Regions from separate parts of the Homo sapiens genome. Here region 1 is linked to region 2. The links are contacts of gene promoters, found by promoter capture Hi-C in blood cells and fetal thymus (Javierre and others, 2016). All regions are on one chromosome and are shown on one strand. The core of a region is centred on a gene start or on the middle of the fragment in contact, and the rest is flanking DNA. Distances in the headings are between cores, read along the strand shown.

Region 1 (6,013 bases), core at 2,348-4,847, 310 kb before region 2:
AATCATAAGGAAGACATGGCTCCTATTTCAGGGAGCTATTATGTACTAGAGTAGTTGACTGGTCAAGTTGGTTACAGTCAAGTTGTAACACTAAAACTACAATTGGCTGGCACTGGGCTGACTTTGGAGCTAGGTAGGGGGGAGGGGGCGCCTGTTTAAGCAGCAGCAGCCCTGGTGCAATAAGCAAGCCACTTGCAAATTCTCCCTTGAGTGATCCTGTAGCTTCTCCTGTTACTCTGTAATCACACTGGGTATGTGCTTCCCACAGGATCAAGCATGCAAAGGCAAGTCTCCACATTGGCTCATTTACCTTTTCTCTCCCATCTCATCTGGAATAATCCTACTTCATGTTTTGTTTCGGCACCTAAGAAGCTCTGTTGTCGATGTGGAAAAATATATGGTGTGACTCCCTCAGGTTGACACAGCAGGGTAGAAGAATGTAACTACCAATTTGGCGGAGTGTTGAGTCATAAAGGTAAGTATTTGGTAGTTCTGTTTGGTTTGACAAGCCAGCTGTTCAGAGAAGTGGAATGAAGTATTAAGTTCAATGTTCAGTACAGTCCAATAAAGAAAAAACTACATCAACTCTAAAACCTTTATTGTAGATACCTGCATCTGACCACCACTTGACTTACCCTTGCAGCTCATTGGCTCAAGAACCCTCAGGCTATGACAATTCTTCTTTTTTTAAGACCTTAAGTCAGTCAGCTGCCTCCTGACCTTGCCCTTTCCACATGCCAACATTGCAGTAGTTTTTGTTTGTTTGCTAATTGCTTCAATTCCTTGCAGGTGACCTTGCCTAATACTTTACTGAAAAAACAAAGCCTTTGCGAAATAATGCCCTGCTCTTCCCTCCCAGTAGATTCACCAACATCTGCTCCTTTCTGGAGTCATGATGGAGGAAGCATCCCTGTTCCCGTCACAGTTCCTCTCCATGTGCTCTGTATCCTGTCCTCGTGCACCTACTCAGGGACTCACCAGACTCCCCTTCTCTATAAGATCAGCATGTTCTCGACATACCATTCTGGTATCTCCCATTTGTTTTAGCAAACTAAACCTCCATGGTCCCGGTCTCTTGCTGCATAGCTACTCTCATTTCTCTGCCTGTCCTCCAGCACCTACTCAGGGACTCACCAGACTCTCCTCTATAAGATCAGCATGTTCTCGACATACCATTCTGGTATCTCTCATTTGTTGTAGCAAACTAAACCTCCATGGTCCCAGGTCTCTTGCTGCATAACTACTCTCATTTCTCCGCCTGTTGCATATGCTTCATGCACAACAAAGAGTTGTCTATGCTAGCTGGCTTTACTCTCCACTCACCACTGAAGCTCACATCAGTGACCTCGAGGCTGCTGGATCTAATAGACTTGTTTCTGAGTCACTTGACTTATCTTTTCAGTACTGTCTTACCTTATAGTATTCTCCTCTCTGCTTTTGTAACAACACCCACTTCTGCCTTTCTTCCTCCCTTTCCAGCTACTTCCTTTCAACCTCCTCTGCTGAATATTCTTCCTTACCAGCCTCTAGTGGCAGAAATTCTCAGAGCTTTGGGAGCCTTGTCTCTCCATATCCCCCTTCTCCCTAGATGAACTGATTCTTTCCCATGGCTTTCAACAGCCTCTAACTGCTGTTAGCCCCTAAATGTGTATCTCTAAAGAAACATTTCCCCTGGACTCCCAGCTTTGCTGAATATCCATCTGCCTGCCTATGTGGGTTTCCCTCGGGTACCACAGCATCACCTGCATGAAGATGAGCTTGTGATCCTCTCCCCACCCTGGGATCATCTCCAGCACCCTCAATTCCCTATAGTCCACTTAGGTGTATTTGTTCCCCTGCTTAACCAAGAAACCTGGTGTCATCCTCACTGCCTCCTTTTTGTACACCCTTTCATCTGGACAGTGTGCGAGTCCCACTGTTCTGTGTCAAAAGCATATCCCAAACCTCCTGCTTCTCTGATCTGGCCCCTGCCCCCTCTTCCACCCTTTCCCTTGCTGTCTTTACACCACACTTTCTCCCACCTTTCTGGAGCCTTCTTGCCTGCTGCATCCTCGACTTTTCACATGGCTAATTCCTTCTTAACCTGGAGGTCTCTGCTTAATTGTCACATCCTCAAGGTCTTTTCCTGACCGTACTTTCTAAATAGGGCCTCCCTCTTCTGCAGCACCCTGTCTCTTTCTTCTATAGCAGTTAATTATATTTTGTAATGAGTTAGTAATCTGTCCACCATCTTCAAAAAATAAGCTTCTGGAGGGACTGTCCAACATTTTTTTCTCCCCATGTTCCCCCAGCACTTAGCACAGTTTCTGACACACGCAAGCCATCAGTAAACATTTGGATGGGTGAACAGGTAAATTATTTATGTAGATGTGGACATAACTATGGATAATATTGTAATAAATCCTATAAAAAGGAAATAGAGGGGAACCATGGGAGGAAAAATATATGAATAAATAATGTCATCAAGTAAATCAGACAAGCTCAATCCATCTTTAAAGCATGGAGGGCTTAGTTTGGGAAAGTGGGAGACTGTGAATTCCAAGAAGACGAACAAGGAGGGAAGATGCTGAGGAAGAATAAGTGTAGCAAACAAACCAGTTGGGCTGATGGGACCATACAGGATAATGGGCAGAACAGGGACTTCGGAGCCAGCAGAGCTGAGAGTTGGGGCTGTTCTGCTGCTTGCTTTCCCGGGCACGTTACTTTTACACCCTGAGCTTTTCTTACCATTTTGTAGAAAGGGCTTTGTATGGCAGTTTTTACTAGAAAAACTAGTGCAAAAACTAGTGCAAAAACTCCCTGGAGGCAGAGGGACTTGTTAGGGAGCAATTGGGAGAATATTTCCTAGGGCCAGACAGAAGGGCTCAGGGTAGGTAAGGGTATGGATGAGGTGGATGATAGGAGTAGGGTAAGAAAAGAGATATGAAGTATTGAGATTATTGCTGCGAAGAACGTGCAAGGTGTCTGGCGAAGGATGCAAAAGCCGAAGGCATCAGGACTTTGAAGGTCCAGCCAAGGTTGGAGCCAACATCTGTATTGTGGTCTCAGTCTGCATAACTGGGTGATTTTTCTTGGGTTGGATAAAAATCTGGATACAGGAATGGAGAAGGTGGTAGTTGGAACTAGTCATACAGAAGGTTCTAGCAGAAAGAAAAGGTCAGGGAGTAAGAGTAGATGTTGAGAGGATGATTGAAGTGGTTTGACTGTCAAACCAGTCAATGCAGGATAAAGTAAGGAAGCCAGAGGAGAGCTGATGGGCCAGGGCAAATGATAAAAAGAGGGGAAGAAAGGTGTTCACAACATTAGCAATTATAATTCACCTTCAAGCATGGCCCGTGAGAACTCTGCTTATCGGAATAGATTTTTGTCTATTATGCAATATCTAAAAAAGTAACTGAAGAGAGGTGACTTAAAAATATTTGCACAGTAGAGTCCTTAAAGCTCTTTAAGGGTCAAAGAAAATGCATGTTCATGAGAGTTAGTCACTCTGCCTTGTAAAGCTTGTTTTGATTTTTATTTTTTCGGTTGGTTTACAGTCCTCAGTGGCTTTGAATCTCAATACGGCTGTTGTGGAGGTTTCCTTGGATCGCCCCGGTGTCAGGTCGCCAAGGTAGGACTTGTCACCCAAAGTGCTGCCTGTTTCAGAAACCAAGTTGTAGCCTCCAACACAGGCCTTGGTGATGGATAAGCTTTTGAAAAAATTAACTAATTTTCAGTTGATGACATTTTATGAGCCTAATTGTACTTAGAAAAAACAGTAATTTATTTGACAATGTTTGTTTCAGCTTCATGTTCATGACCACAAAGAAAACCTAAAGGGCTTTGTGAAGACTTTTGTCAAGTTCCCACCTGCTGATGGTAATCACCGTGTGTTTGCAGTAAGTTGTGAGATGGTATGTTGGTTTTATATTTTACTTTACTGTGGTTATTATGACTGAATGATTGTGTAGCAGTCTACCTGGTAGAAGGGTTTCCAGGGCCTTATTCCTTGACGACACAGTGCTGCATTGGTTGTTCACAAATTTTCAGATGAAGCCATTAAAGCTGAGAAGAGTTAGTGAATTGGTTAAGTTCACGCACCTAGAGCGATGGAGCCAGGAACTGTCCTGAGTGTCTTTTTATCGGTCAAATTTCTAAAATATACAAATAGTGGTAATTCTACTCATCAAATTGCTGAAATTATGTGAGTGAAAAATAATCAGCATAAAAGCTTTAATGCTTTTGGCAAAATCATTTCTAGAGACAATAAAATCTTTATAGGGACTTATGTTCCTTTACATAAGAATCAGTGCTAAAAAGTGGGGAAAACAGAATTTGGAATTACAAGACCTGGAAAGTTCTACTAGCTGTGACCTTCTGAGCAAGTCTCTTAGATGCTCTAAGCTGTAAATTATGGAGTCAGTAACAACCCCATAGTGACTATGAAAATCAGATATGCTAAAATATAGGAAAGTGCTTTGTACATGTCAAACATATGAATAGTCATCTTTAATAAAACATAAGATAAGTTTTTATTCCCCATTGTATATTTGGAAAGAAGATTTGTGGCATTTCCTTATACTAAAGATAGAAGACAGTATTCCATTTTCCAGCTTAAGATCTTTTTATTATTGTTATTATACTTTAAATTCTGGGGTACATGTGCAGAACGTGCAGTTTTGTTACAAAGGTATACACGTGCCATGGTGGTTTGCTGCACCCGTCAACCTGTCACTTACATGAGGTATTTCTCCTAATGTTATCCCTCCCCTAGCTCCCCACCCACCAACAGGCCCTGATGTGTGTTTTTCCCCTCCCTGTGTCCATGTGTTCTCATTGTTCATATCCCACTTATGAGTGAGAACATGCGGCGTTTGGTTTTCTGTTCTTGTGATAGTTTCCTGAGAATGATGGTTTCCAGCTTTATCCATGTCCCTGCAAAGGACATGAACTCATCATTTTTTATTCCATGGTGTATATGTGCCACATTTTCTTTATCCAGTCGATCATTGGTGGATATTTGGGTTGGTTCCAAGTCTTCGCTATTGTGAACAGTGCCACAACAAACATAAGTGTGCAAGTGTTTTTATAGTAGAATGATTTATAATCCTTTGGGTATATACCCAGTAATGGGATTGGTGGGTCAAATGGTATTTCTGGTTCTAGATCCTTGAGGAATTGCAATACTGTCTTCCACAATGGTTGAACTAGTTTACACTCCCACCAACAGTGTAAAAGCATTCCTATTTCTCCACATCTTCTCCAGCATCTATTGTTTCCTGACTTTTTAATGATCACCATTCTAAGTGGCGTGAGATGGTATCTCATTGTGGTTTTGATTTGCATTTCTCTAATGACCAGTGATGATGAGCATTTTTTCATATGTCTGTTGGCTGCATAAATGTCCTCTTTTGAGAAGTGTCTGTTCATATCCTTTGCCCATTTTTTGGTGGTTTTTTTTTTCTTGTAAATTTGTTGAAGTCCTTGTAGATTCTGGATATTAGCCCTTTGTCAGATGGATAGATTGCAAAAATTTTCTCCCATTCTGCAGGTTGCCTCTTCATACTGATGATAGTTTATTTTGCTGTGCAGAAGCTCTTTAGTTTAATTAGATCCCAGTTGTCTATTTTCGCTTTTGTTGCCATTGCTTCTGGTGTTTTAGACATGAAGTCTTTGCCCATGCCTATGTCCTCAATGGTATTGCCCAGGTTTTCTTCCAGGATTTTTATAGTCCTAGGTCTTACGTTTAAGTCTTTGATCCATCTCGAGTTGATTTTTGTATAAGGTGTAAGGAAAGGGGTCCAATTTCAGTTTTCTGCATATGGCTAGCCAGTTTTCCCAACACCATTTATTAAATAGGGAATCTTTTCCCCATTGTTTGTGTCAGGTTTGTCAAAGAACAGATGGTTGTAGATGTGTGGTGTTATTCCTGAGACCTCTGTCCTGTTCCATTGGTCTATATATCTGTTTTGGTACCAGTACCATGCTGTTTTGTTACTGTAGCCTTGTAGTATAGTTTGAAGTCAGGTAGCGT
Region 2 (6,774 bases), core at 1,967-4,466:
CTCCTTGTATGGAGATTGAAGCTACATTCATAAGACAAGATTAGAATTATGGTAGAGGCTTGAACTTTGCTAAAGAATAGACATGCTCAAACAATAACTTGGCATTGTTTGATTAGCTTGCTTTTCTTTCTTTCTTTTTTTTTTTTTGAGACAGAGTCTCGCTCTGTTGCCAGGCTGGAGTGCAGTGGCGCAATCTCAGCTCACTGCAACCTCCCCCTCCCGGGTTCAAGTGATTCTCCTGCCTCAGCCTCCTGAGTAGCTGGGACTACAGGCGCGTGCCACCACACCCGGCTAACTTTTTGTATTTTTAGTAGAGACAAGGTTTCACCATGTTAGCCAGGATGGTCTCGATCTCCTGACCTTGTGATCCACCTGCCTTGGCCTCCCAAAGTGCTGGGATTACAGGCGTGAGCCACCTCACCCAGCCTAATTAGCTTGCTTTTCTATAGAGCCTCCTGCCCTGGAGTCACGTAACCAGAGGTCACAAGATTTGTAACTTCGCCAAGTACTCCTACAGATAACATCACTATTGTGAAACCTAATTAACTGGTCTTTGAGATATTTTTCAAATTTAGCATTTTGGCAGACCAACAGACACAACCTGGACCTGTGAACCCCACTCCTCAGAAATGACTCAGGTTCACGAAGATAGTTCTGACACACCTGTGATTCATCCCTGACCCAACCAATTAGCATTTCCCATTTCCTAGCCTCCTGCCCACCAACCGATCCTTTAAAAACCTAGTCTCTACATTCTTGGAGGTGGATTTGAGAAATATCTCCCATCCTCCTCGTTGGCTGGCCCTGTGATTATTCATCTTTCCCTGCTGCAACATTTGTAGTTCTCAGTGCATTGGTTTTTTGGAAGGCAGCAGGCAATTACACAGGGAAATGTGAAATTACACATTTCCCTGTGTAAAAGAACACAGGGGCAATTACAGCACGAGGGGAAAACTTTTATAAGGGGTTGGTGGAAGCAAGACTAAGAAAATATACTTACTTGATTGGTTAAAGTGGAAAGTCCTTAGTTAGAGGTTTGTCTGTTTCTGTTAGTTAAGCTTAAGTTTCATTTTACTGTTTACATTGAGTTGGGCTCCAGAGCTGGAACTATCTCAACCTAATGGCCTCCAAATTAACATTTTTTAAACAAGGCAAATTCTTCATGTGTGAAATGGGAATAATACTATCTACCTTGCAGGGTTATTGTGAGAACTAAATGAGAGACTGTGAAAATTGGTAAACTGAATACTATACCAAGTTGAAAAACATTTCCTATTATATAGGAGGCAGTAAATTAGATGGTTAAGATTCATGTAAAATAAAGGTCTTGATAATAATAAAATGTAGTCCGGTAGAAAAGACAGACATAAAAGAACATATTAGAATGCAGTAAATACTATATTGACAACAGACAAAACTGCATTGGTTCCCCAGAGGAACTAGAAAAAAACAGAAGATAAACTGGTGTTGAACTATGACAGATGGAGAAAGTGGAATTCTAAGTTTAAAAAAAAAATGCATGTACAAAGAGCATAGAGACATGGAGAGCATACAGCATAATGTGTTCAGGGAATTGTGACAAATTCGAAATGTCTAGAGTAAGAGAGATAACAGAGGGAGATGAATCTAGTAAAACAGATTAGGGAGATTGTGTGAAAGGCCCTATGTAATGCTGTACTATAAGAATGGAAAGCCGGCCAGGCGTGGTGGCTCACGCTTATAATCCAGCACTTTGGAAGGCAGAGGAGGGCAGATTATGAGGTCAAGAGATTGAGACTATCCTGGCCAACATGGTGAAACTCGTTTCTACTAAAAACACAAAATTTAGCTGGGCATGGTGGCGCGCTCCTGTAGTCCCAGCTACTCGGGAGGCTGAGGCAGGAATCGCTTGAACCCGGGAGGCGAGGGTTGCAGTGAGCCGAGATCGCGCCACTGCACTCAGCCTGGCAGCAGAGCGACACTCCGTCTCAAAAAAAAAAAAAAAAAAAAAAAAAAAAAAAAAAAAAAAATAATGGAAAGCCATCACAGGTTGTCAAACAGAGAAAAAACAATTAAGTGTATATTTCAGAAAGATAATTATATTTTAATGTGTAGGATTGGCTGGAGAGAAGGGGTAGAAAGGCCAGAGAAATGTTGAAATAATTTAAGTAGGACTAATTGGTACAGATTTCTAACAGATAGCTAGAAATACAGATCTAGAGTTTGGAGAAGACAATATGGGAATACAGCTCTAGAAATAAGCCAAGTAGTAAATAATCCACCCAGGGAGGGGATATGATAGCAAAGAAGTATCAAAAGTCAGCATTTCAAGAATGATCTCCCAAACCAGGGGAAAAGTGATTCCAAACCTAGAGTAGGAGTTTTAGGAAGGGAGAAGTCAGAAAAGTGTGAATTGGGCTTAGCAATTTAGAAAGGTTTGTGGAAAAGTGTAGTTGGATGCGAGAGAATAGCGGATGGGAAGAAAACAAAGTAAGGAGACAGGTCATGTTTACCCTGGCACTCAATAAGGTCTGATAATGACTAGCAAGTAGCACCACGGGTGGGTGGGCGGCGGGGTTGTTAAAAATACGTATCTCAGCTCTAACTCAGACCTACTGAATCAGAATCTACATTTTAACAAGCCGCCAGAGAAAAGTAGTTATACCTTTAAAAAATTGACTTGGACCACCGTATTTGCTAAATTTGACAACAGAGAGTAGGAGATTCAGATAACTTGAAACGGAGGAATAGTTCAATGATTAATAGTTCCCAATTTGGCCTCAAGCTTTCTCGTTTTAATTGAAAAACAAGGTTAACTTGCAAAAACCTCGAGATTCTCAGGGAAAAGCAGTGAGGATGACCTAACAGTAGACACCAAACAACCTCACTCAGCCATTCCGCCATGCCCAGCGCGAAAGACTCAGGTTTAAAATATCCGGATTCGGCGCGCCGGATGTCCACGCCAGCTGGCGCGGCATTATGGGAATTGTAGTCCCGGCCCGCTTCCCGATTTACCACAAACTGTTGGGCCCGGAGTCGGAAGAGACCCGGGTTTGGGAAGGACCCCAGGGTCAGGCGTCCTGGTGGAAGGGCGGGCCTCTTTCTCTCTTGCTCAGCAGGGAGTCCAGAGCCCTGGAGGAAAGCCAGCTCAGCTCCGCATCGGCGTCGGCGGTTGGGACGCACACACTCTGCGTCATGGAGGGCTGAGGCCGATGATGAATTCCGGAGTGCCTGTCAGGCTTGCTGTGTCACTCGGCCCGCTCGGCGCGCCCCTTCCCAGCCGCCCTTCCGTACCGGCTCTCGGGCTCTTCCGGTCTCCGGCCGCCCCTTACCTGCAGGCTCTTCTCCCGCCGCGGCCCGGCGCTCTCCGAGTCGCCCCTGCGGACTGGTCTCGCACAGTGCCTGGGCACCGGGCGCCAGACAGACACTGGCCATGACGAGCGGCGCAACCAGGTACCGGCTGAGCTGCTCGCTCCGGGGCCACGAGCTGGACGTACGGGGCCTGGTGTGCTGCGCCTATCCGCCGGGAGCCTTTGTGTCCGTGTCCCGAGACCGCACCACCCGCCTCTGGGCCCCAGACAGGTGAGCGCTGGGAGTCGGGTTGCCCCGGCTGTGTTGCACGCTTCCCGGAGAGTGGAAGGAGAGTGACCCTTCCCTGTCAGTCCTGCCGTCTCTCTCTCCCCCCAGCCTTCCCTCTGCTCTCCGCTCCCTTCCAATTCTCAGACTATTAGAACTCTGTAAGAAACCATCGGGATTTAAGTGGAAAGAGCACAGGGTTGGGGGACCAAAGACCTGCCTTGTTGTGCTAACTTGACCACAGACGAGTCTCCTACCTTTTGGGCCTTCAGTTTTTGGACGATGATCTCCCAAGTTTCTTTTAGACTTGAAAATTTACTGATTGCAGTTGCACCCTCCGAAGTGAGGTAGTTTGAAGGCATCTGAAATGTCCTCTTTTTTTTTTTTTTTCGAAGAAGATGCTCTGTAGTCTTCTGTAAAATTTAATTTTTGAAGACTTTAGTTCTCAAAAATTGCACTGGTGAATCCTCTTTTCGTCCAGGTTAGAATTTTAGTCTGTGGTCTGTGCTGGTCCTGAGGGAGTGAAACCTCTCGGATGTTTTGTTTCTGTGCATGTGCTGTTTCTTGAGGAGAAGCAGCATCCATTGCCTTCAAAGGATTTATCAGAAGGGTTCACGAACCAAAAAAAAAAAGAAGAAAAAGGTTAGGAATCAGTCCTGATCGAGTTCACGGGTTCAGCCCTGATTTGGCTGGTTGTAACAGGATATTTAAGACCTAGAAGACAGATTGCAGTTCAGAGAAAGAAAAATTGAGGTTAGTTATTTTGTTATTTAGTAGGTCTCCCACTGCTAGAGATTTTAGAATTTGAGTCACCATCCATAAATTCAGTTGATAACTGTTGAGTGCCTCCTCTTTGTTTGGGATACTGGAGAGGAATAAAGACAGACAAGTTGCCAGTGTTTCTGGAGCTTTCTTACAGTCTGATGGGGAAGATAGATTAAAAAACAAGCCAATAAATAATTAAAAACTGGCATGTGAAGAAAACATACAGTTAATTAGGTGGAGAGATATATTAAAGGAAGCCTCTCTGAGGAGTTGTTTGTTTAAAGTTGACATTTGAAGCATGAGATGGATGGAGCTGGTCGTGGAAGAGCAAATAGGGAGGATTGAATTGGAAGAGCATTCCAGGCAGCTGGAGGAGCAAACAGGAGGGAATTAGCTGTGAGGTGAGGGCAGGTTTTGAGGCTGGCAAGAGCCAGGTTATGGAGTTTGCAGATGGAAGCCTTCAAATAGTTTCAAGCAGGGAGCAACATGATCTGATTTCCGTGTTGAGAAGTTTCTGCTAGCTGATGGTAGAGAATAGATTGAGAAGGGATAAGTGTAGAAGTGGGTTTGCTTGGAGGCTTTTGAAGTAGTATAATCAACACAAGATGGTCCACTAGGCTAGGGATAGTATAGAGCAAATTCCTGTATTGAATTGAATGAGATGATCTCTAAAGATCTAACTCTAAAATTCTATAATATCCAAAACTACTTAGTAATACTAATATGGAACTTTTTGTTTGAGTACAGTTATTAAGTTTTTGCCTTTAAAATTGAATCCAGTAGAAGCATAAGCCCAGTAGAATATAACCATTGCAGTAAGGAGTATAATCAAGGATGCCTGTTTTAATAATGGAATCCTGTCATTAAACTTTTGGGACTGTACTAGTTTGACAAGGGTTTAATCACTGGAGTGGTTGTGCTTACCAGGAACTTGAAGAACTTTGGGCTGAACTGATTCTCTATTTGAAAAGTGATTTTGTTGTTCATTGAACTATTGATTTTTTTTTTTTGAGACAGAGTTTTGCTCTTGTTGCCCAGGCTGGAGTGCAATGGCACAATCTTGGCTCACTGCAACCTCCGCCTCCGGGGTTCAAGCGATTCTCTTGCCTCAGCCTCCCAAGAAGCTGTGATTACAGGCATGTGCCACCATGCCCGGCTAATTTTGTATTTTTAGTAGAGATGGGGTTTCTCCATGTTGGTCAGGCTGGTCTTGAACTCCTGACCTCAGGTGATCTGCCCACCTTGGCCTCCCAGTGTTGGGATTACAGGCGTGAGCCACCACGCCTGGCCGAACTCATGATTTTTTTGTTTTTGTTTTTCAAAATTCATTCCTGTATGTATTTATCTAACACTGATGAAGAACTTGCATTTTGCCACAGTGTGTGTTAGTGCGTAGTGAGATAAGATTATTTAGTCTCTCATATCCTGCTGGTTAGGTTAGCAAGCTTGTCCATCCTGTGGCCCATGGGTGGCTGTAAGAGTGGCCCAACACAAATTTCATAAACTTTCTTAAAACATTATGAGGCTTTTTTTGTGATTTTTTTAAAAATGCTCATCAGCTATTGTAATTATTAGTGTATTTTATGCGTGGCCAAAGACAATTTTTCTTCCAATGTGGCCCAGGAAAGTCAAAAGATTGGATACCCCAGGGTTAGAGTGTTTCATAGTCATTAGGTGATTAAGCTCTTATTGATGCCAACTGAAGTGTCTCAACCATACCTTTAATGTTGTAAAAGTGTCCTCAAATCTGACATATTGACAATTTTTATTTCATGATACATGTCTTCTCTTTTGTGTTGCTGTAGCAGAATACCACAGACTGGGTAATTTGTAAAGAAAAGAAATGTATTTTTCATAGTTCTGGATGCTGGGAAGTCCATTATCAAGGTATCGGCATCTTGAGAGGGCCTCTTTGCTGCTGTATCATCCTATGGTGGAAGGGTAGGAGAGCACACAGCAAGAGGCGCAGAGGGGCCAAACTTGCTTTTGTAACAAAGCCACTCTCTAACCCAGTCCCGCAATAATGACATTAATCTATTCATGGCGGCAGAACCCTCTTGATCTAATCACCTCTTAAAGGTTCTACTTCTCAACATGGTTGCATTGAAGGTTAAGTTTCCAGCACATGAACTTTGGGGGACACGTTCAGGCCATAATAGAATATTTGTGTGATTTTGTTTTTTTGACACAGGGTCTTGCTTTGTTGCCCAGGCTGGAATGCAATGGCATGATCACTGCCTTATTGCAGCCTCGACCTTCTGGGCTCAAACAATCCTCCCACCTCAGCCTCTTAAGTAACTGGGACTACAGGCAAGAACCACTATGCCCAGCTAATTTTTATTTATTTATTTTTGTAGAGATGAGCGTCTTACTAGATTGCCCAGGCTGGTCTCAAACTCCTGGGCTTAAGCAATCCTCCTGCCTCAGCCTTCCAAAGTGTTGGGATTAAAGGTG

What was found. Contacts are between HindIII fragments. The CHiCAGO score rates a contact against its expected background, and 5 or more counts as called.
Region 1: a fragment that was not itself captured here is called in contact with the fragment with the promoter of PLAA in region 2 in 1 of 17 cell types (megakaryocytes); the score reaches 5.2 in megakaryocytes.

What each region holds. Positions count from the first base shown.
Region 1 is chr9:27,256,292-27,262,304 of GRCh38, reverse strand. It overlaps the pseudogene REXO6P. Among named protein-coding and RNA genes, the nearest start is that of EQTN, 38 kb to the left of the region's middle. The HindIII fragment of the contact is 189 bases long and covers 3,503-3,691 here.
Region 2 is chr9:26,943,684-26,950,457 of GRCh38, reverse strand. It overlaps PLAA (phospholipase A2 activating protein), which reads left to right and starts at 3,216. Exons shown (of 14, transcript NM_001031689.3): 1 at 3,216-3,561. The coding sequence starts at 3,413. It also overlaps a transcript of IFT74 not described here. RefSeq lists enhancers at 2,893-3,202, 2,792-3,465, 3,463-3,722, 3,466-4,141. The HindIII fragment of the contact is 3,001 bases long and covers 2,767-5,767 here.